Linked DNA regions of Homo sapiens: all the other regions are linked to region 1. The links are contacts of gene promoters, found by promoter capture Hi-C in blood cells and fetal thymus (Javierre and others, 2016). All regions are on one chromosome and are shown on one strand. Each heading gives the region's core, a stretch centred on a gene start or on the middle of the fragment in contact. The rest is flanking DNA. Distances are from core to core; before and after follow the strand shown. Region 1 holds the start of ANKHD1 (ankyrin repeat and KH domain containing 1). Region 2 holds the start of HSPA9 (heat shock protein family A (Hsp70) member 9). Region 3 holds the start of DIAPH1 (diaphanous related formin 1). Region 4 holds the start of DIAPH1-AS1 (DIAPH1 antisense RNA 1).

What was found. Contacts are between HindIII fragments. The CHiCAGO score rates a contact against its expected background, and 5 or more counts as called.
Region 2: the fragment with the promoter of HSPA9 here is called in contact with the fragment with the promoter of ANKHD1 in region 1 in 1 of 17 cell types (total B cells); the score reaches 7.1 in total B cells.
Region 3: the fragment with the promoter of DIAPH1 here is called in contact with the fragment with the promoter of ANKHD1 in region 1 in 1 of 17 cell types (fetal thymus); the score reaches 5.9 in fetal thymus.
Region 4: the fragment with the promoter of DIAPH1-AS1 here is called in contact with the fragment with the promoter of ANKHD1 in region 1 in 3 of 17 cell types (neutrophils, M0 macrophages and total CD4 T cells); the score reaches 11.5 in neutrophils.

What each region holds. Positions count from the first base shown.
Region 1 is chr5:140,398,139-140,403,937 of GRCh38, forward strand. It overlaps ANKHD1 (ankyrin repeat and KH domain containing 1), which reads left to right and starts at 3,695. Exons shown (of 34, transcript NM_017747.3): 1 at 3,695-4,135. The coding sequence starts at 3,830. ANKHD1-EIF4EBP3 (ANKHD1-EIF4EBP3 readthrough) reads left to right here and starts at 3,695. Exons shown (of 36, transcript NM_020690.6): 1 at 3,695-4,135. The coding sequence starts at 3,830. It overlaps ANKHD1-DT (ANKHD1 divergent transcript), which reads right to left and starts at 3,263. Exons shown (of 2, transcript NR_186045.1): 1 at 2,973-3,263. RefSeq lists enhancers at 2,289-2,438, 2,529-2,678, 2,769-2,818, 3,009-3,898. The HindIII fragment of the contact is 10,874 bases long and covers 1-5,799 here.
Region 2 is chr5:138,572,985-138,578,783 of GRCh38, forward strand. HSPA9 (heat shock protein family A (Hsp70) member 9) reads right to left here and starts at 2,417. Exons shown (of 17, transcript NM_004134.7): 1 at 2,254-2,417; 2 at 1,084-1,142; 3 at 779-866. The coding sequence starts at 2,334. The region is part of intron 1 of LOC105379193 (a long non-coding RNA gene); the gene reads left to right. RefSeq lists enhancers at 1,998-2,645, 2,162-2,211, 2,452-2,731, 2,646-3,294, 2,872-3,011. The HindIII fragment of the contact is 10,827 bases long and covers 1-5,799 here.
Region 3 is chr5:141,615,333-141,621,131 of GRCh38, forward strand. DIAPH1 (diaphanous related formin 1) reads right to left here and starts at 3,668. Exons shown (of 28, transcript NM_005219.5): 1 at 3,466-3,668. The coding sequence starts at 3,582. It overlaps HDAC3 (histone deacetylase 3), which reads right to left. Exons shown (of 15, transcript NM_003883.4): 15 at 5,549-5,799. RefSeq lists silencers at 3,246-3,442, 3,253-3,302, 3,363-4,022. The HindIII fragment of the contact is 3,913 bases long and covers 2,537-5,799 here.
Region 4 is chr5:141,555,245-141,561,043 of GRCh38, forward strand. DIAPH1-AS1 (DIAPH1 antisense RNA 1) reads left to right here and starts at 3,067. Exons shown (of 3, transcript NR_038333.1): 1 at 3,067-3,243. All of the region lies in intron 18 of DIAPH1 (diaphanous related formin 1), which reads right to left. RefSeq lists enhancers at 2,045-2,897, 2,658-2,952. The HindIII fragment of the contact is 6,603 bases long and covers 1,153-5,799 here.

The sequences.
Region 1 (5,799 bases), core at 2,445-4,944:
CTGGGATTATAGGCGCCCACCACCACGCCTGGCTAATTTTTTGTATTTTTAGTAGAGACGGGGTTTCATCATGTTGGCCAGGCTGGTCTGGAACTCCTGACCTCGGGTGATCCACCCACCTTGGCCTCCCAAAGTACTGGGATTACAGGCGTGAGCCACCATGCCCAGCCATTAAATCACATTTAATAGAGATTCTATATAGCAGTCACCAAAATATAGGAGACTAGGAGTTCCTAATTCCCATACTGACTGTCAAACTACTGACAAGTATCTCAAGTAAAGGTCCTGGTGAAACAAAGATTATTGCTCAATCACATTTCTTTAGCTATACTCAGGGTTAGTTGCTAGGCACTGAGTAAAGAGAGTGTTTTCTTCCCTCTCAAATAAATTGAGAAAAATGTATATATATCCAGATTTCCTTTCCCTGTGTCCTTGAGAGTCATTGTATTTGTTTAAAGAATTTAATGAGTTTGTTCAGGGAGTTGCATCAGAAATTATTTTTGTATCAGTAGTAAGCATGACAACTAGTTCCTTTGTAATGCTGTACCAGTCAATACCTGTTTTTGCCTAAGGATGTATCCATACCAATTCTGGATAATCCAGCTTTGAAGTGGGTTGGGCAGTGCCAGGTTTCTTTTGTTGGTGTTATTAGTTTGGGTTGTGACTTAGTCACACATGCCTTGAAAACTTAACAGCACTGAGGATATAGGCTAATTAAGTTCCACAAATGCTAACTAAAGCCAGTGTACATAGCATTTACATTAAAATAGTTCTCTAGAATAGGTACAAGACTTTTTTTTAACATTTTCTACAACTTATTTATTATCTAGAAAGAACATTTAACAAACATGTTCTGCTCATAGAAAACACTATCCTTTACATGTGAAATGTCAAAATGAGCAATTACTAAGCCAAAGAAATGTTTATGATATTCAAAATGTTTTTTAAATAAATGTTTGGCAGAATCAACTTTTAAAGTTATTTTAAAAATCATTATATTCTTATAAAATTTTAAGATCCCAGTTTAAGGATGACGAAATATTAAATATTGCACAGTTGAGATATATAAAGGCCTTTGTTAAAGTTGTAAGAGAGGAGAAAATGACTTTTTTTTTTTTTTTTTGAGACTGAGTCTTGCTCTGTCGCCAGGCTGCAGTGCAGTGGTGCGATCTCGGCTCACTGCAACCTCCGCCTCCTGGGTTCAAGCGATTCTCTTGCCTCAGCCACCCGAGTAGCTGGGATTACAGGCACGCGCCGCCACACTTGGCTAATTTTTGTATTTTTAGTAGAGACGGGGTTTCACCATGTTGGCCAGGATGGTCTCCATCTCCTGACCTCGTGATCCGCTCACCTCTGCCTCCCAAGGTGCTGGGATTACAGGTGTGAGCCACTGCGCCCGGCCATTTTTTTTTTTTTCAGCCAAATTCTGTTATCATATGGACATTCTCTGGGTCAAAGGATATTTTCCATACAAACCACCAGACTCCTTTTTTGGTCATGTCTGATTAAAGGATTAGATAGAAACCGTTTTTTTTTTATTTTTTTAATTTTTTTAGACAGGGCACCGCTCTGTTGCTCAGGCTGGAGTTCAGTGGCACGATCTCGGCTCACTGCAACCTCCATCTCCCAGGCTCAGGGGATCCCTCCCACCTCAGCCTCCTGAGTAGCTGGAATTACAGGCATGCACCACCATGCTCGGCTAATTTTTTTTTTTTTTTTGAGACGATGTGTTGCTCTGTCGCCTAACCTGGAGTGCAGTGGCACGATCTTGGCTCACTGCAAACTTCGCCTCCTGGGTTCAAGTGATTCTCCTGCCTCAGCCTCCCGAGTAGCTGGGATTACAGGCACGCACCATCACATCTGGCTAATTTTTGTATTTTTAGTATAGACGGGGTTTCGCCATGTTGGCCAGGCTGGTCTAGAACTCCTAACCTCAAATGATCCGCCCACCTAGGCCTCCCAAAGTGCTGGGATTAACAGGCGTGAGTCACCGCGCCGAGCCCAATTTTTGTATTTTTGGTAAAGACGGGATTTCACCATGTTGCCTAGGCTGGGCTCGAACTACTGGGTTCAAATGATCCGCCCGCCTCAACATCCCATAGTGTTGGGATTACAGGCGTGAGCCACGGCGCCCGCTATAGAATCTGAATATTTTTAACCCCCCTCTTTACTGACAAGATAAAGACAGAGATAGAGAGATGCATATAGGGAGGAAGAGATCTCCTTAGAGGAGGGAAGACCACCACAGCTAGCCTTGTTTTGCACCACACAGATCTGATTAGAACTAGAATTAGTTGGGCTGGCAGGACCCAGGGGCGAGCAGAGAGTTCCTGAAGGAAGAGGAGACAATAACTAGCAAAAATGAGTCTTTCCTGTAAGTTTGGGACTTTGCTAAGCGCTATATTATCATCTAATTTATTCATAACAACAACCCAATGAGGAAGGTACTAATATTACTCCCATTTCACAGAGGAGCGAGTTGAAAGTCACAAAAATGAAACAGCAAACGCGCCGAAGTCAGGCAGCAAGTAAGTGGCAGCACCAGAACTCGAAACTGCCTCGGAGCATGCACTCTTCACCACCCCGTTCCACCTTGAGGTCGGATTCCGCACGCCGTTCGCGGCATTCCCACCTTCCTACGTGGGACAGTTCCCGGTACTGAGGCATGGCGCTGTCCAGCCCTCAGGCCCGCAGCCGTCCGCAAGCAGGAGAACGCGGCCCCGCTGGGCGATCCTGCCCGAAGGCGCCCGAACTGCGGCGCGCGGCCGGGTCCTGGCGGGCGGGTCGAGTCTCCCCAAGGCGGCCATCCCAAGCAGCTCCCCGGATGTCCCTCAGACCCGCGCGCTAGGCTCAACTCAGAAAGGCGGGAGGCGCGAAGCGAGATCGGCCTTGCCCCTCGACTGTCCCCTCATCGCTCCCCGTCCTCTATTCCCTCCCAAATAGCCCCCGGCAAATAGGTTACACATCTTCACCTGTCCCAGAGGTGGTGACTGCTCTAGTGACTGACGCTACGCTCCTCCAACCAGGCAATGGCAGGAAGGTGGAGCCTTCCTAAGACTGATGGCTTCCTTTCTCCAATCCCGGTGCAGCTATTCTCCGGCCATAGTCTCGGCGCCCAGCGGAGAGCGACAGGTGGGAGCTGCGTTACTTCGGCGCCTCTTGCATCCTTGACGTAGAAGTTTCACCAAGCGCAGGGTGAAGTCTACTCCAAATTTGACCAATTCTTGCGGGTCATCACTTCAGCAGTCATTTTATTCAGAAGTGGAAATTTCCCGGCCCTTTCCCGTCACCTCAGATGAGGGCGGGATCAATGGTACTCCCACAGGCCAATTGTACCACGCGACGTCCCGCGACAAAGTGACCGACACTTTATGGCGCCAATGAATTCTCCCATTGTTCGGGGTCACTATGACTGACCACAAGGCCAACTAATCCACTTTAAGGTCGTGACGCGATAGTCAGGCGGGTTGGCCAATAGACATAGGAAAAGAGCGGAAGTCAGCTGGTGAAGAGTGGGAGGCGGGTGTTCGCAACCGCCTAGGCCTGCGCGGGTCAACGCAGCTTGGCGGCTGCGAGCCAGCGAGCGGCGCGTGACGAAGAGCCTGAGCGACGGGTCACTTTGGCCAATGATCTGCAGCCGCCAGGGTATTGCAGCCAGTGGCGAGTCGAGGGGGCGGGAGGCAGCAGGTTAGGCAGTGAGAAGTTAGTGGCGCTGCTGGGACGGGGGAAAGGAGACGCTTCTTCCTCTTGCTGCTCTTCTCGTTCCCGAGATCAGCGGCGGCGGTGACCGCGAGTGGGTCGGCACCGTCTCCGGCTCCGGGTGCGAACAATGCTGACTGATAGCGGAGGCGGCGGCACCTCCTTTGAGGAGGACCTGGACTCTGTGGCTCCGCGATCCGCCCCAGCTGGGGCCTCGGAGCCGCCTCCGCCGGGAGGGGTCGGTCTGGGGATCCGCACCGTGAGGCTCTTTGGGGAGGCCGGGCCAGCGTCGGGAGTCGGCAGCAGCGGCGGCGGCGGCAGCGGCAGCGGTACGGGCGGAGGGGACGCGGCGCTGGATTTCAAGTTGGCGGCTGCCGTGCTGAGGACCGGGGGTGGAGGTGGTGCCTCTGGCAGTGACGAGGACGAAGTGTCCGAGGTAAGGCTCCGGGACCCTCGCCTCCCACACATTGTGAGGCGTGAATTCTCTTTGGGTAGGCTCTGGGCCGGGGCCATCCTCCCGCTTCCCTGGTGGAGCCCTTCTGTGACAGCGGTCGGCTCCATGGCGGCGGTGGCCGCGGTGAGGGCCTAGTGAGCCCTCGGCTTACTCTTTAGCTCGAGCGGGACAGGTTCCCGTCACCATTCGTAGACCCACAATAGGGAGTCCTTTGGTCTCTGAGCTTCGCGCGGGAACAGGGACTCCTCAGGCTGCCTCCCGCCCACCCTGCTTTGGAGTTGGGGGTGGGGGGCGGGGTCTTGCCAGAGTCCCTGCCCTTGGTACTGAGAGAGACAAACAGAGACAGAGACAGAGCTGGTGCAAAGATCGTTTCTCTTCTTTGCCTCTCCTCAGAGTTGAGGGATACGTTTATTTGCCTTCTGCCTTGTGTGTGTCTTACCTGTGTGCTTAAGGACGGTTCTTATTCTCCCTCTTCAGTTTGAGACAGGTTTGAGTATTAGGGATCTCTCGGCTTTTACCCTGAAAAATCACGTGACTCCTCCTTCTGGGACCTTTTGTGAAGTTAGACAGGAAAAGGAAGTTCCAGGGCATCCCTGAGCTTCGGAATAGCTGGGTAGCTGAACTCGGAGGTTTTAGGCTTGGAGAAAGTGGGGCAACCTGTGGAAACCTCTTCTTTTTTTTTTTTTTTTTTTTTTTTTTGAGATGGAGTTTCGCTCTTGTTGTCCACGCTAGAATACACGTGATCTCAGCTCACTGCAACCTCCGCCTCCCGGGTTCAAGCGATTCTCCTGCCTCAGCCTCCCGAGTAGCTGGGATTACAGGCGTGCGCCACCACGCCCGACTAATTTTGTATTTTTATTAGATACGGGGTTTCACCATGTTGGTCAGGCTGGTCTCGAACTCCTGACCTCAGGTGATCCGCCCGCCTCGGCCTCCCAAAGTGCTGGGATTACAGGTATGAGCCACCGTGCCCGGCTGGACACCTTCACTCTGCCTTTGCAGTGAAGTCCTTCATTTCTTTAACTCTTCTGTGTGTACTCTAATGTGTACACATTTTTAGGTCTGAGCAACCTGGGATGGTAGGCATTAACTTCTTTTGGGTTCTGGGGAAAAAGGGGCGGGTTTTGTTTTTGTTTTTTGAGATGGAGTTTCGCTCTGTCGCCAGGCTGGAGTGCAGTGGCGCGATCTCGGCACACTGCAACCTCCGCCTCCTGGGTTCAAGCGATTCCCCTGCCTTAGCCTCCTGAGTAGCTGGGACTACAGGCGCGTGCCACCACTCCCGGCTAATATTTTGTATTTTTTAGTAAAGACAGGGTTTCACCATGTCCAGGATGGTCTCGATCTCCTGACCTTGTGATCCCAAGGGGCGGTATTTTATGTGTATACTTTTTTCTGTTGACTGTGGCTTGCGTAGAGTACTGTACCGTGATTGTTTTAAGTGCTCAGAGTATTTCTTCTATTTTGGTTCTGAGGTGCCTGAGTTGTCACCTGTGACCAGTTATTTTAACCTCTGGTCTTGGTGTTAAAGTACAGGAATTTCTCTGTGTGTACTAACAATCCCGGCTCTTGGATTTGAGAGGAATAAGGAGAAATTATTTGTGGGTTACAGACTGCAGTTAGTATACTGTCTTATCATTCTAGGTCTG
Region 2 (5,799 bases), core at 1,167-3,666, 1.8 Mb before region 1:
TCCTGGGTTCAAGCGATTCTCCTGCCTCAGCCTCCCGAGTAGCGGGGACTACAGGTGTGTGCCACTACGCCCAGCTAATTTTTGTATTTTTAGTAGAGACAGGTTTCACCATGTTGGCCAGAATGGTCTCGATCTCTTGACCTTGTGATCCACCCGCCTTGGCCTCCCAAAGTGCTAGGATTTCAGGTGTGAGCCACTGTACCCGGCCAATTTTTTGCATTTTTAGTAGAGACGGGGTTTCACCATTTTGGCCGGGCTGGTCTTGAACTTGGGACCTCAGGTAATCCACCCCCCTTGGCCTCCCAAAGTGCTGGGACTGCAGGCGTGAGCCATTATGCCCGGTCAGCCCTGATCTATAGTTATGTTTTTGCTGTTTTAGTTGGAAGTACTTCGAGGCCAGGCTTAGTGGTTCACATCTGTAATCCCAGCACTTTGGAGGCCAACGTGGGCGGATCACTTGAGCTCAAGACCAGCCTGGCCAACACAGTGGAACTGTCTCTACTGAAAATACAAAAAATTAGCCAGGAATGGTGGTTCATGCCTGTAATCCCAGCTATGTGGCCAAGGCAGGAGAACTGTTTGAACCCAGGAGGCAGAGGTTGCAGTGAGCGGAGACCGTGCCACTGCACTCCACCATGGGCTATAGAGACTGTCTCCAAAAAAAAAAAAAAAAAAAAAAAAAAAGCGCAAATCAGGTTCTCAAATTCCTTAACTAAGGAAAAGAGCACAGAATTCTGGACAGATTCTGGATAAGGTACTAGTTATCAATCATGCTCACCTTTGCTTGTTTACCTTCCATAACTGCCACGCAGGAGTTGGTAGTACCCAAATCAATACCAACAACTGCTCCCTTGATTGCTTCTGATCTGTAAGACATTTAGAACAGTGTCACAGCTATTGTTATCTTGATAGACCAAAGTCACTGGAAGATAATATTTAATTGGAAAATTAACAGTGGTATACTACATAATCTCTAAATAAATACAGATAAATAATTACAGAGAAGAATAATCACAAATGTAGAAAACACTGCTTTGAAGTTTAATATGTATTCCCTCTCAAAGGAAATGATATTATACTTACGCATAATCCCGCCTTGAAACAAGTCTAAAAGCCTCATGACTAAGGCCATTCCAGCTATCCTAAAAAAGAAAAAACTGACTCAGTCACCAACCAGTGTGTATCCTGGGAGGAAAAAGAGAAAACTTGGGCTCACTTAGTATATAAAATACATTAAGCTACTAAAACAGTAAATATTAAAGTTTCCCAAATAAGTAAGACGAAAAAAGGTAAATAAAAGATGGCCTTAGAATCACATTACAGTAGGATTTCTCAACCGTGGCGCTATTAATTTTGGGCGAAATTTTTGTGGTGGGGGCTGTTCTGTGCATTGTAGGATATACAGCAGCATCCCTGGCCTCGACACCCTAGAAACCAATAAGCACCCCAGTAAGTAAGTGACAACCTAAAATATCCACAGACATTGCCAGATGTCCCCTGGGGGAAAACACTTCCCCTTACCTTGCCGTGCAATTAGTTTAAAAGAACTAGAGTTACTAAGGGTCTTTGAAAGAAAAAAGAAAAGTAGTGGCGTTTCACTAGGATAAAAGACCTTTATTACAACTTAACCTCAGGCTCCTTCCAAGCCTTCCTTAATGCCCACATACAATTCCTGTTCTCTAAAGCATTTGTCTTTTATTTTAGAAAACAAGTAACCACTCCATAGCCTTTTCTCCGCCCCACGATCTGCTTTTTTTTCTGAAGTAACAAACGAGTACAATCTTACACCACAGATTTTGAGAAAATGTTGCTAAGCACGAAAACTGGAGTTCCGACTCAGAGCTTTCTTATTTTATTTCACCGTATCAACGGGATCCTTACACACTCTGTATTCTGTAGAGGAGCCAAAAATAAAACTGAAAATAGTGGCTTTCCCAATAGACTGCATCCCTCACCCCCAAGGCCAAACCTTTCCATTCAGCCACAGAACAGGCCATGAGGACCACTACCTGGTAATTTTGAAATGACACTCTAGATCGCGAGGGGTGTGACTCAGCAGGGCCCAAGCCGGAGGCAAAACCTTGGGCAAAATCTTGACCCGGCAGCGCTAACTATGGAAGGCCCGTTACCTTCCTTCCCGCCTGACCTATACTGGAGAATTCAAACCCTAAAGGGCGCGCGGCCTGCCGCAGCGAAGCCCGAGGCCCAAGGCCCGAGGCCGTGACCCCATTCGGGAAGGTCCCAGTTCCTCACCTGGTGGCGGGCGGCCGTAGGGCCCCGGGAGGCTGCGGCGCCCACGAGACGGGCTGCTGCAGCTCGGCTGGCACTTATCATGGCGGATAAATGGAGGAGTACGAGGCAGCAAACAAGCGCTCCGACGGCAAAGAGCTGCGCGATGCGGTGGCGGCAGCGCTTCTGGAAACCTCCAACCACGTGGGGTGAGGGGCGGGGGTTGGTCACTGCGGCCCAGAGGCCCGCTCTTCCGCTGAGGCGCCGCCCGCGCCGCCTGACCAGAGGATACTCGACTGCCGCTCCCGGAGCCAGGGCGTACAGGTAATATGCTCCGCAGCATGATGGTTGGAGAAAGCCTGCCCTCCTGTCCCGGCTGCGGCGGCTCTGAGCTCAGAAAGAGTCCAGGGGAGGAAGAGGGATATGAAGGCCGTATCTCGGACAGCCCCGGTCCTCGGCGACAGGAAAGACTCAAGGTCACACGGGATAAATTGCGAACCGATTACAGTCTTCTTGCGTCAGTTGCGCGGGAGGAGGAGCCTGTTGGCGCAACAGACATCCAGCTAAGAACCTAGAGCGCATGTGCGCAAGGAGTGGCGGAAAACATGGGTGGAGACTAACTGCGGCGCTCACTGGGTGCCCGAGTGCACGCCAGCGTTCCCTGGGGCGAGCCCGGGCGCGTGCACACCCCCCGGGCGTGGACGTGTTCCCAGCTCCCGCTCCTGGAGGACGGCGCCATCTTGTCTTGTGGCTTTGTGAAGTGAGGACGTCAGTACTTTTGTTGTTTGGTCCCGCCCGTTGTTCACAACTTGAAAGACACTTGGATATGCAGACAGACGTTAAACAATTTCGTGTTGCGTTTTATCACAGGGGTCTTGGGTTTCCAACTACGAAGCGTTTGATTCACACAGAACATTAGGCCAATTAGCCTGCACAAAGGGAAAAAAAAATAGCTGAGCTTGGCCGGGCGCTCACGCCTGTAATCCCAGCACTTTTGGGAGGCCGAAGCGAGCGGATCGCGAGGTTAGGAGATCGAGACCATCCTGGCTAACACGGTGAAACCCCGTCTCTACTGAAAATACGAAAAAGTAGCCGGGCGTGGTGGCAGGCGCTTGTAGTCCCAGCTACTCGGGAGGCTGAGGCAGGAGAACGGCGTGAACCCGGGAGGCGGAGCTTGCAGTGGGCCGAGATCGCGCCACTGCACTCCAGCCTGGGCGACAGAGCGAGACTCCGTCTCAAGAAAAAAAAGAAAAATAGCTGAGCTTCAGGCTCTTCCTCTCCCCACTGTGCTGGGCCTGACTTGAGACTCCTCTGGCCCTTTTTAAACCTTGTGCTGGTGGCAGGATGTCAACTACTTCACTACCCTGTGACCAGTTTTTAGGTTTTTGTTTTTTTTTTTGAGGCAGTCTTTGTCGCCAGGCTTGAGTGCAGTGGCGCCATCTCGGCTCACTGCAACCTCTGACTCCCTGGTTCAAGCTATTCTCCTGCCTCAGCCTCCCAAGTAGATGGGATTACAGGCGCGCGCCACCACGCCCAGCTAATTTTTATATTTTTGGTAGACACCGGGTTTCACCATGTTGGCCAGGATGGTCTCGATCTCCTGACCTCGTGATCTGCCTGCCTCGGCCTCCCAAAGTGCTGGGATTACAGGCGTGAGCCACCGCGCCCAACCCAGTTTTAGATTTTTAAGAAGAGGAATTAATTGATTCAACAGATATGTTTTGGCATGCCTACCGTGTGTCAGTCACTCTCCCAGGTGGTAGGAATACAGCGAAAGCAAAACACGAACGAATGGCTGATGACAGATTGAACTTGATTTTGGAGATGAAGCAATTTGTCCTGGAAGCCCGCTTTCAAAAAAAGAGAAATGTTTCAGACCCCCTATCTCTTCAGGAAGATCTGTATTATTAAGTAGTCACCCCTGGGTGAGGAACTGTGAAGGAAATGTTGGGGAAAGTTGGGGAGGGAAAGAAGCTAACTGAAGAGTTTACATTCTGAGGAGGATGGCAGTGGGAGTAAGAAAATAAACAAAAGTCTAACGTAACATGGGTTATAGATTATATAGATTCTAAAAGTTTTTAAAAAGCCTCCCACACACTCTTAACTGTCAGCTATTACTATATTATCCTCACTAGTTACTTAACACTTCATTTCTCTTGTTTTTAGTTCTCTCAGAAGGCAGGGGTGGCCAGGCGGTGGCTCACGCCTGTAATCCCAGCACTTTGGGAGGCCGAGGTGGGAGGATCACTTGAACCCAGGAGTTCGAGATCAGCCTGAGCGACAGAGTGAGACTCCATCTTTAGCCTCTGTCGCCCAGGCTGCAGTGTAGTGGTGCAGTCTCAGCTTACTGCAGCCTCCACCTCTCTGGGCTCAGATGATTCCAGTGCCGCCTCAGCGCCCCCCTCCCCCGAGTAGCTGGGATTACAGACATGCGGCACTACGCCTGGCTAATTTTTGTATTTTTCGTAGAGACGGGGTTTCGCCTTGTTGCCCAGGCTGGTCTCCAACTCCTGAACTCAAGGGATCCGCCCGCCTCGGCATCCCAAATGCTGGAATTACAGGCGTGAGCCACTGCGGCCGGCCAATTTTTTTTTTTTTTTTTTTTAAATTGGCTGGGCATGGTAGCAAGCACCTGTAGTCCCACCTACTTGGGAGGCTGGAGTGGGAGGATCACTTGAGTTCAGGAATTTGAGAACAGCCTGGGCAACATGGCAAAACCCCATTTCTACAAAAAATTAGCCGGGCATGGTGGTGCACCTGTAGTCCCAGCTACCAGCTACTCGGGAGGCTGAGGTGGAAGAATCACCTGAGCCAAGAGAGGTCGAGGCTGCAGTGAGTCGTGATTATGATTGTGCCATTTCACTCCAGTCTGGGTGACACAGCGAGACATTAAAAAAAACAAAAAACAAAAAAACAGAAAGAAAGGAGAAAGGAAGGAAGGAGGGAGGGAAGGAGGGAAAGAAGGAAGGAGAAAAGGAAATAAGGAAAGGAAGGAAAGAGAAAGAGAGAAAAGAAAGATGCGGCCGGGCGTGGTGGCTCACGCCTGTAATCCCAGCACTTTGGGATGCTGAGGCGGGTGGATCACCTGATGTCAGGAGTCCGAGACCAGCCTGGCTAACATGGTGAAATCCTCGTCTCTACTAAAAATACGAAAATTAACCAGGCGTGGTAGTGGGCACCTGTAACCCCAGCTACTCGGGAGGCTGAGGCAGGAGAATTGCCTGAACCCAGGAGGCGGAGGTTGCAGTGAGTGGAGATTGCACCACTGCACTCCAGGTGACAGAGCCAGACTCCGCCCCCCCCCCCCCCCAAAAAAAAAAGAGAGAGAAAGGAAGAAAAATGAGAAGGCAGGCTTTCTTAAAGGCTATCCAAACAGGCTCATGATTCCTGTTTGTAGAGATTTAGATTCTAAAACAATATACCGATGCAAAGAAGACAGAGGAGTGACAAATAATATTGAACATTGAAATGCAATAAAAAACATTATGTTCTTACGTTGTACATGACGGGGCGGAGAAGGGCAGGTGGAAATAATTGGAGAAACTGCATACTTCTCACTTCTCTGTTGTA
Region 3 (5,799 bases), core at 2,418-4,917, 1.2 Mb after region 1:
TGAGGCAGGAGAATCGCTTGAACCCGGGAGGTGGAGGTTGCAGTGAGCCGAGATCGCGCCACTGCACTGCAGCCTTGGACACAGCAAGACTCGTCTCAGAAAAAGAAAAAAAAAAAAAAAAAAAAAGGGCCGCACGCGGTGGCTCACGCCTGTAATCCCAGCACTTTGGGAGGCCGAGGTGGGCAGATCACGAGGTCAGGAGATCGACAACATCCTGGCTAACACGGTGAAACCCCGTCTCTACTAAAAATACAAAAAAAATTAGCCAGGCGTGGTGGCAGGTGCCTGTAGTCCCAGCTACTGGGGAGGCTGAGGCAGAAGAATGGCATGAACCCGGGAGGCGGAGCTTGCAGTGAGCTGAGATTGCACCACTGCACTCCAGCCTGGGCAACAGAGCGAGACTCCATCTCAAAAAAAGAAAAAAAAAATTCTCGCTAATGCTCCTAGTTAAATCAGGAAGCAATATTCTCTCTTACAATGCATCACTTTCTCGATTATATGAGAGTGCATACAAAGTCTATTAAATGTAAGAATACTCTGCAGCCTCCTAACATCCCGGTTCTACTTATTCCCCTTACGTATATTTTGGAAATCAGTCTATTTGACACCCACATTGATCACTGCTGAAAAGTCAGAAAACCCTCTGTTCACCTAAAATTTTTATTTTCCTTCATCTTAAGGACTTGTGAAAGGAAATGGAATAATGCCGGAGAAGGGGTATGCTCATGGCCCAGGAGAAGACAGACTCATGAAGAACCAAGGGGTAATACCAGGCAGCCTGGCTTCAGCCACTCACTGTCAGCACGTCTAACAATCATGTGTTTTTAAAAGATGATGCCCAACCACTTTTAAACTGAGGGTCCATCTCCTTTCCACACAAGATGCCTCAGAGGGTAAGAGCAGATCTCAGACAATTTGTGAGCTCTGTGTTCTCACCAGTTAATCCGTATTTAGAACCTGCATAAGCCAGGAAAGGTATGTAGCAGCTAAAGGAATTATAAACCCTCAAATGCAAACAACCTTCGGGCACACTTAGTCCAAACCAGTGCAGTTTTATACAGTACATTCTTAATGGAGTTCCAGAGGACACATACTCTAGAAAAGGTGGAGGCGGCGAAAGACCTTTGAGTTCAGTTTTAGCCTATAGTTCAAGAAAACTAAGCCACGGGTATCAAAAGCACACCAGCAATCTCGCCCACTCCACCCACCCACGTATACATACACAGACACAAAGAGAAGTGGATTGCAATGCTCCTCCTCATCTCTCATTTCCACAGAGTTCTCATAAAAGGAGCAAGAGGAAGAAAGAATATTCTGATGCCTTGAGATAGGTTACATTTGGCAATAAAAGGGTTAAGCAGCACTACTTTCCTAGAAACCTTCCAATTCCGTAGCTACTAATGCAATTTTCCTCATTACCTGAGCTATTTAGTTTTAAAAATTCAGCAGATTAAGGGTTAAGACTAACACCGCAGAAAGAAAAGAGAACTTGGTTCAGCTCCATCCTCTCTAAAGCAAATACCTACAACCCTGAGCCAAATCCATTAAACATATAGAAGACTTCATGGACATTCCAAAAGACAGGTGAAAAGGGGTTGAGCTTCCTCAGGTTTCTCACCTTACAGTACCACACACATAGTAGACTTCACAAGTTCGTGAAATAATTGTTAGATAAAATAGAGTACATATAAAATTCTACTCAAGACATGAAAACAAGTCACTGAGGTCACCACAAGTCAGCAGCAATAGCTGGAATTTGGGTGAGGAAGGTCAAACAGTACTCATGGAAATAAAATCAAAACAAAAAGATACAGAAATAGAAGGAATATGAGCCCTAGAACTTAAGTTTTGGAAGGAAAGCTAACGGGGGGGAGGGGTCAATTCTTATCCTAAAGAAACATACAAAAATGCTGCTTTAGTCACCAAAGAAGGAGGGGGTGTCAATACCCTTAACCTTATATTTCTAGGGGGGGAAAAAAAGATGTTCACCAGATAAAAACAGATGGTTACTGACATCTCAGATATCACTGGAAAGGGCAGTCCAGGAGCACTTGGTCTTGCTAGAAATAGGAAGAGATGAGTCACTATTTTAATTCTATTTAGAATTAAACATCTAACCCTCCAGGGTTAACATCTCAACCCTCTAGGTCATAAAACAACATTTTCTTCCTGTTTCCATCGCTTTATCAGTTTTCTTCCCAAATTTGTGGAGCTGGGTCAAAATGTTGGGAGGTGGGACTAAGAGTTACAAGCCATTTGTTTAGTAGAAAGATACACTAGTGTAAGGGCATAAATACCTGGAAGAGAAGACAAAAGAGCTACAGTTATAACTAGCTATTATAATGATCATCAATATCCAAGACTTTTCCTCTCCTGGACAGTGCCCCGTATCTTACAAAGCTTTTATAGCAAAAAAGCAACCAAACGGCTCCCTGGAGAGAGGCGTTGGTGTGGGCAAAAGGTAATGAAATATGATAGGGTTACATGTATATCACTATTCCTTCACTCGGATTGAAAGTAACTGGCACTTGAGGAAAGCTTACTCTTCTACAGGCACGCAAAGGGAAGCCGATAGTCGCCTTGGGGCACAAGAGGCAGTAGAAAAGGAGTAGAGGAGACGGTTATCATGGGAAATGTATAAAAAACAATTCAATTACAAACTTCTTGAACTCGCAGTCCAACTTTCTTCCCACAGGAGAGGTTTATCACCATCCTAGGTCAAGAAGGGCACAATCATGAGAGTTCTAATCCTCTGAAAAGTGATAAGCAACAGGGCAAAGAGAGAGGTTCTCTGGAGAGAGGAATACTGGTAAACAAATAAACGTCATGCCCCAGTGACCATAGGACCTGGGCAGGAGCCCATTCCTGTAATCGCAAGGACAAACGTCCAAAGAAGGAGTTGGGGGTAGGGCTCAAGTCAGGTAACATTCCTCAGGGGAAGGATTATCAAGTGACACCGGGCGGAGGGCCCACGGGGGACTGGGCGGGAGGAAAGTTAGCAGGTAAAAAGGATGAATCATGGAGAAGGAAGTGACCTTTAGGAGAAGGAAATACGAGAATACCAAAAAAGGTGTAAGGTTAAGAAGAGAAAATGGACCCAGAAGAGGGGACCAAAAAAGAGGAGGCGTGTTCGGGTACTGGAGGAAGAAGAAAGGAAGTGAGGCTGAGAGGGGAGAGACGGGGCTGAGAGCCGGCCGGGGATATGCGGGCGGGAGGGCAGAATGTAAGGGCTGGGGAACGAGGGAAGCCCCGAGGTGGCCGGGGCAAGAGCCGGGTGGGATTCCGGGGCTTCCCGAGGTCCCGAAGGGAGAGGATGTCGGGCTGCAGAGCTGCGGACCGAGCGAAACGAGGAAGGAAGGCGCGGGGGCGGCTCCCCAAAGCCGGGCAGGCGCCCCAGGGGCCGGCTGCAGGGGTCCAGAGGGCGGTTACGGGGCCAGGCAGGAGCGGGATGGGAGGGACACTCACAAATTTCTTAGATTTGCCGCCGTCGCCGCCCGCCGAGGGCAGCTCATCTGGGCTCCGGCCCTTCTTCTTGTCCCGGGTCCCGCGGCCGGGCCCCAGGCTCCCGCCGGGCGGCTCCATGTCCCGGTTCACGCTGGCCGGCGACCCCGCGCCTACGCCGCTCCCGCCTGGCAGCTCCGCGCCCGCCGCCGCCCAGTCGCTCTTTAGCCAGCCGCCGCGCCCCGCCTCATTAGCATGCCGGGCTGCGCGCGCCTCATGAATATACAACGACGACGCCTCGCTCCCGCCCGCCTGCCCCACTTCCGCCCGGACCCGCAGCCCCTACCAATGGGGGAAGGGAGAGGGGCGGAGGGAAGCCGCGGAAGCGCGCTACCTGCCCAGCGGACCTAACCATTCGGACCCACGTGGGGGGGGGTGGTGAGTGGGCGGTGCAGCTCTCCGCGGCCGCGGCGGAGAGCACCGCCCCCTGGCGGTTGGAGCAGCGCAGGCCTCTGGCTCCCACGCAGCGCCCACGTGGCTGTACAGCCTGACAGCCTGGACCCTCTCACATCCCAGACCAAAAATCGCGTGAGACCATTATCCTGGCAGAAAATTAGTGACAGGTTTTCCAAGAGAATGCAGTTTTCAATGTGTGCAATACCCATGGAACACATGAAAAAAATTATAGTGATAGCCACCATGTTTTGAAAGCAAGGTAGCAAGAACAGAGCTCGGTCCAGGGCAAGCACTAGACTAAACCAGACTCGCTCTGGAGTTTAATTTCCTAGTTCGAATTCCAGGTTAGGTACCATCTAATTGTTTCTAATCAGGACAAACTAATTATTGCCAACATGTGCCTAAACAGCAATAACAGTTACCACTTAACCATGCCCTTTGCTCTCTGCTAGGCACTAGGCAAACACTCTACATGTATTTTTCTAAGTCCCCACAGTCCCATGTGATAGATTCTGCTAGCCTCACCATTTTATAAATAGTAAATTTGGACTTTTGAGAGTTGAAGTGACTTGCCCAAGAACGCATAATTGATATAAAATTTAAACCCAGCTTAGTCTGATTTGCTGCCAAACCCTATGTTTAACCAGGATTCCCCACTGACATAAACCAAACATGAGTGAAAAGAATGAGTATTCTCCAAGAGTATATTCTTTGCTCTTCTAGCATGACTTTCTCCCTAAGCAATTTCATCCATTCTCCCAGCTACATCTGTCCCTTGTGTGACAGTTACGTGGCTACCAGTCGGCCTTCACAATATGGACTGAATATTCTTGACCACAGCTAGCAAGATTTCAAGCATAAGTTCCTGAAGGGCAGAGTCAGTGACTTACTTACTCTAGAGCCCCAGTACCTAGTCAAGGGCCTGAGATATACCAGGGACTCTGCCAAGCTGGCTGGCTCCTAAATTTGGCATTCATCTCTCTTGTGGTCCAGACCTTCTGATGGTGATCGGATAGAATGTTACATAGAGCTGTCCATCCCATACTTCAAACTTGACTTAGTGCTGAGCTTTCCAGACATTTTGTCTAAAAAGTCCAAAAGCTACTTTCTAAGCTAGTGTTGAGAACAGACAGAATCAGAGAATGGAGGGGAGGAAGTGACCCATCTATCAGTCCTCTTTCTTGTATCAGTCTGTATCTGCTACAATATTTATCATACTACTGACTGGAATGTAAACTCTTCTAGAGAAAGGTTCATGTTTGTGGCTACTACAGTATTTAGCATTGTTCTTCACATAGACAGATAATGGGCAACTTCTTCTGTCAGGCACTGTGCTAAGCACTTAACATGTTTTATCTCAGTGTATCTTCACCAACTAGCATCACTACTCTAAACACCCAGATTCAAAAACCTGAAGTCATCTTCTACTCCTCTCAAATCTGCCCAGGTTTGTCTAACTCTTAACCAAAATCCTCTATTAACTTCTTATATTTACAATAATAAATGTAGAATACATACACAGGGCCTAACGTAGGATAAGTGCTGAATGAATGTTAACTATGCTTTTATTACATGCATCATCATGCCCATTTCCCTCTCCTTTCATAAATAGGAAACTAGCAAGAATTAACATTCCTAGAAAGGCGAAAGGTACAAAAAATACCGACTTAGTTTATTGGATAAAAACAGTGGTAAAATGGACATAAAGCCAAAAGTGAGAACAGAACATTTTCATATCCTCCCCACACTTGAAAACATACTTCCCATCATCTGGGATTCAGGTGTTAGGGAGCCAGAGCCCCTTCCAAATCTCTCTCTCTTCATCTTCCCTGGAAGCAAGGGGAGGAAGAAGTCAGAACCCAGGGGAGGAGGAAGTCAGAGGCAATCTCAGTCCTTGTCTAC
Region 4 (5,799 bases), core at 1,817-4,316, 1.2 Mb after region 1:
ATGTGTAAATTTTAAAAACTGTCACCAAACAGGAAACTGTGAGAAAGGTAAGACAGATATGGCTCTGGGCACCACCTATTTTATTTTCATATCCTTAGACAGGTAGGCCTGGTTCAACTTTGACGGTGGGTTAGGAAGAACTCCCACTGACAACCAGCAGTAAAGACAGGCAGTCAAATGTAGAACCCATAGAATGCTCCCATTTGCTGCCTTCCCAGCCTTCTTACAGGAATGGTGCACTAATTAATCATCCAGATACTAAAGCACCTAATATACAACCTTATCAATGCTTGGGTTCCAGCCCCCATTTTCATAAGAGCAAAGATGAGAAGTCCAGAACAAAGGCCTCATGCTGTCCCTCACCCTAAAAACAACATCAAGGGCTGAGTAATTTCAGTTTACAGAATTGTGTGAAATAAGGGACCAAAATAGGTGGGTATAGATAGCACCTTAGCACAAAGGAAAAGAGGAAAATTTTTTCTGCAAAGGCTGTGACTCTCAACAAACAATAGTAGAAAAGAGAGACCCTTACACCTAGCTATGTGGTTAAAAAGTGGCCGTGCCAGGATCCGTATTTCTAGCTGCTGCAATCCTGACCTATTCAGCAGATTCTAAACCTTTTGCTAGTGGGAACTATAGTTTCCAAACTAGACATGGGGCCAATCTAGTCTCCACAGACCAGACTCTACGAGTGTCCTGCCAGCCTTGCCAAGAAGCCAGACCCTGCTAATTCCCTTCTATCACCTGTGCCCTTCCCTTGGGCAAGGGAATAGACTGCTTGCTGTGGCTGCTGAAAGTCAGAGTCACTGACCCATTTCAGAAGTGGGAGAAGAATATTAAGCAAGAACTTTCATCTGATCATTTGCATCTAAGTCAGTCTCAGGGAGTATCTCCAAAAAGGTCAAGGGAAGGACTAGCGATATTATAATCCTGAAGCCATAAAGGACTTTTCACCACATCCCCCCCGGCCCCAACACAGTATTATATTTTTTCTTTCTGTAAAAGTCCATGAAGTGCTGTTAATTCATTGAGTCTTACCAGGGAGAAAGCTGCTACTTAAGTAAAAAAAGTATTCGGGAAAAAAAAAGCTGATACTCTAGAATCACCATAGGGATGCAGCTATTACACAGTGGCCAAACACAGTTGTCCCAAAGCTTAAAAGCTCTCCTTTAATTCTTAGAACGGGTGAGGCCCACTTCTATGACCATGTTCTCCGTTGACGGCAGTGTGCAAACTTTTCTCAAGACTTTGGGTAACAGATTATCACGTCAGGAGAAAAGTAAGAGTCCAGCCCTTTCTCCCTCTGAAGGTGGCAGGGCATTGCTCCTTCACTTGGTCACCAATAGCCTCTGTGGGAAATCCTAAAGAAGAGGCTCTGCTCTGGCAAGAAGGGAAGTCTGGCTTTGTATCTTCTCAGTCCCAACCTGAGAGATCTTCTTTTTATTTATTTATTTATTTATTTTTTGAAATGGAGTCTCACTCTGTCACCCAGGCTTGAGTGCAGTGGTGCAATCTTGGCTCACCACAACCTCCGCCTCCCGGGTTCAAGCAATTCTCCTGCCTCAGCCTCCCGAGTAGCTGGAATTACAGGCATGCGCCACCAGGCGGCCCGGCTAATTTTTGTATTTTTAGTAGAGACGAGGTTTCGCCATATTGGCCAGGCTGGTCTCAAACTCCCAACCTCACGTGATCCGCCCGCCTCGGCCTCCCAAAGTGCTGGGATTACAGGCGTGAGTCACCGCGCCTGGCAGAGATCTTTTTAAAAGAAATTAAGTCTATAAATAAATTGCAAAATAAAAAATAAAAAAGAGCATAAGAGAGAACCTATAGAGACATCAACCAACTGCAATGTGTAGACTTTATTTGGCTCTGATTCAAATGAACTATTAAAAAAAACAACTATCATAAGATAATTTGGGAAATTTAATACTAACTGGCTATCTGATGATAAAGAATTTTTTAAATGTGATAATGGTAGTAATTATCTTCTTTTAAAAGTCCTAATTTTTTTGACACACATTCTGAACTGCTTAAGGATTAAATAATATGAACAAGGATACATGTAAAAATAATGGGTGGCAAAGACAAAGTTGATACAGGTATATGAAACAAGACTAGCTGTTGATTAAGTTTTTTAAATGGGTGATGGACATAGGGGTGTTCATACTAGTCTCTTTACATATATGTGTGTATGTGTGCGTGCATTTTTTTCACGGTTTCAAAAATAACATTTTTTAAAAAAATTCAGGACCATTTCCCTAGAGTCCTTGGGGCATTTGATTCTTCCCAGACAGCTAAGTGAAAGGGGTTCCTTTTTTTCTTCTTTTTTTGGGGGTATCTTTTCTTATCTGATCCTATAATTAAGAAAACTGCCCTAAACATCTCTGTAGCAAAAACACCTAAACCCAGGATTAGAGTCTAGATGAGGCAGAGGGGATGCCCTGGCCTGCTGCCTCAAAAGCTAGCACTCTGTCACTGTTAGTAGGTGTCCGGCAGCCAAACCATTTTGCTCTGTGCTCCGCTGGCAAGGACTTGCGGCATCGATTGCTCAGGATGCAGGCAGCCTGCAGCAAGGTGTGTCCCTGATGAGCAACTGCTGAGTAAAAGAGTACGTAGCTGCGCCTCAGCCAGTCTCCCTCCCTCTGCAAACCAGACTCCTCCTTTGCCTAACTCCTTTTTTTATTCCTGCGTCACAAATACAAAATGGAGTTAGCTGGGAGCAAAAACAATCTGTCTAAAATGGCTGAATGCGGTGGGGAGTGCCAGACAGTAAAGCGAAGGGAAAGGGCACCCCCTGGCGGCCAAGATAGGGAGTCTGTTTTATGTTCTTCACTACTTTTGCATTTCAAACGAATCAGTCCTACAGAGTCCAAGTTAATTTTGTCACAAATCTTGATGTTGAGCTCTAAAATTCAACTAATAGAAACTGAGGCACAAGAAGGGAAAATAATTTTCAGTCTCTAAAGACAAAGGGCACAAGTCAACAGCCCTGAGTTGCAGTTACTGCTTGGTTATGATCAGTAATAGTTTCTAGGAGACAACAGAACGGAAGGGAGGTCCTTTTATAGTACATGATTCCCCAGCTTCAATAATGGACTAATGACCCCCGGAATCCCACCGCTATAGCCTGCACTTCCCCAGGAATTCCTGTTTAAGGCGTCTCTCAATGAAGACCACAAACAGGAAATGGAGGAGTGGGGAGTTGCCTGACATCCTGGAAACTACGTTCTTAAAGAACTGCAGGTGGGAGTAAGTGGGATAGAAAAATGGGCTTTTCAAAAACTGTTGAGAACACGGACTGAGTCAGTTGTATCCGCACGGCTGGAAGACAGGCAGCTCCACCTAACCTCACTCACTTACTCAGGACCAAAACCCTACTTGCTCTGCCCAAGATAAAGCCTGCAGCATTTGTACCTATTCTACAGGGAACACCCTCCATTATCTTTATCTTACGCTACACCTCCCTTGAGTAAGCCAAGTACCTATGACTAAAAAAGAACATGTAAGAAAGGTGGAAAAAACAGAAATTATCTGGAAAAACTTGTGGGTACAAGTCATTAATGGTTGCCACTACTTAAATGAGGCTGCACAAATACGCCAGTTTATCCAACGTCCCTAAAGTGAGATAATGGCAACACATACAACACAGGTGCACAAAAATCACAAGTTGTTAAAAAAAAAAAAAAAAAGACTCTGGCATCACTATAGTTTTCTCTGAAGAAATAGGGTCTTTGTGGAAGAATCTTAGATCTCTCAGGCATATATGAAAGATCAGAACACTTAATAATCTCTCCAGGAAATAACTTTCTGTGAGGGTAACATAGCTATGGAATTGCCAAGTTCACCTAGCATACAATAAGCCATGTCTATTAAGCACTACATCAACTCTCTAATTCTGGGAAGAGGAGACAGTAAGAGGGTCTTAATGTTAATATAAGTGTTAATATAAGAAGCTGCCCAAATGGAGGACTTCTGATTTATATTCTTCATGGTTGTAATATACATAAGGGATAAATTCAGCACTTTAAAACAATCACTAAGGTATACATTATAGAAGGAAAAAATATCATGCCAACCGAATAGCAGTTATCCCTGCCCAAAGGTAACCGTATCACTGATACCTTGGCCAAAATATACAACTATCTGCAAAATCCCACAGAACTAGACCATTACAGATGTGCAAGCTGTAAGGAGGGACAGGGCAAACTGGCATTAATGAACAAACCTAAAGGACAAGAACAAAGCCACACAGAATCCCAAAGGAAGAACCAGATGCTGAGAGTTATAAAGAAGGGGACAGATATAAGTCTGGAAGGGTAGCAGAAAAGCAGTATTAAAAATCTGGGCACTTCACCAAGCATTTGGTCTTTCAGATAATATAGTCATTGAGTTTCCCACAGATACTTTCCCAGCACACCCAGGATGGTGACTCAATTAGGGAGTGCTAAAAAGAGGTCTGCTTCTAGGATGTGGGTGGGGAAGGACTGGAAGGACAGGCACTATCCCAAACAAGGACTCAGGTATGTCAGCAAAGAGGACAGGTTTATGCAAGGAAACAATAGGCTAGAGGGCAGAAGAAAAGGCATTAAAATAAGGTACTAGAAATAAAACTCTTTTCCTGGATTAAAAAATGTTTTATTATGGGAAAAATTAAACATTCAAAAACACAATTATTAATCCCCATGCATACATCACTCAGTTTCAACAGTTATCCACTCGTGACCAATTCTGTTTCATCTACACCCCACTTCTAAATCCCATAATGATCCGCAATTATTTCTGTACACATCTCTAAAAGATGATGACTTTTTAAAAAATGCCATGAAACCATTATCACACTAATTTCCAGCTGTCTCAACTGTCAAGTGTTTTGTATAGTTCATTTGGATCAAGATCTAAATAAGTTCCATATACTGTACTGGTTGATAAAATTTAAAATTCCCTCTTAATCTATATGTTCCTCTCCATCTCATTTTTTCCCCTGAAATTTATTTGTTGAAGAAATCAGGACACTAATCACTGGTAAAAATCAAGAAGCACTAGCACAGTTACTTTACACTGTCAGTCACTGGAAGCAAGCACCTGAGGTTTCTCTCAACATGCCTGCATTCTTGCCACTCCCTTTCACTAAGTGCTGGATTTGAGCCCAATATATCTAGGCTCAAATTCTGGCTTGGTGTTTACTTGCTATAAAATCTTAACAAGCAAAGGACATATTAATTCTCTTTTATATCTCTCAATTATAAAACAAAGATAATACCAATTAGGCATTATGGAAATAATGTTTTGATAATTGGAAATAATAGTTGATAATCCCCTGTCACAAATCTGACATTAAATAGGTATTCATAATTTAAGACTGAATGAGAAGGCAAAGTACCTTCATCTTTTTTTTAGGTGCTCCAGATCAGTTTTAATCTCTGCTGTATCTCACCCACGCTAACCTAAATAAATACTGAGTAAACTGCAGAATTCTAAACCATTCTCCATAACAAAGGATTCTAGAAATATTCTGTTTTATTCAGGGTTGGGAAGGGAAGTAACAGGGTAAGAGCAGAACAAAGAGAACAGATGGAATAAACTCCCAGCCCCCAGCCTGAGCCTGCAGAGACAGCTGCTGGTTTTCGTCATACTGCTGTTTTTTTCCCTTCTTTGTTCCTGAGGTGGAAGCCAGGAAAGGGTGGGGAAAGATGAGGGGGGGAAGGGGTGGAGATGGGAGGACCGCCATCTCTGTTACTGAAAGTCACCTGATCTTCTCCTCCAATCCCTAGTCTCTGACCTCACAATCTGGAACCTGAG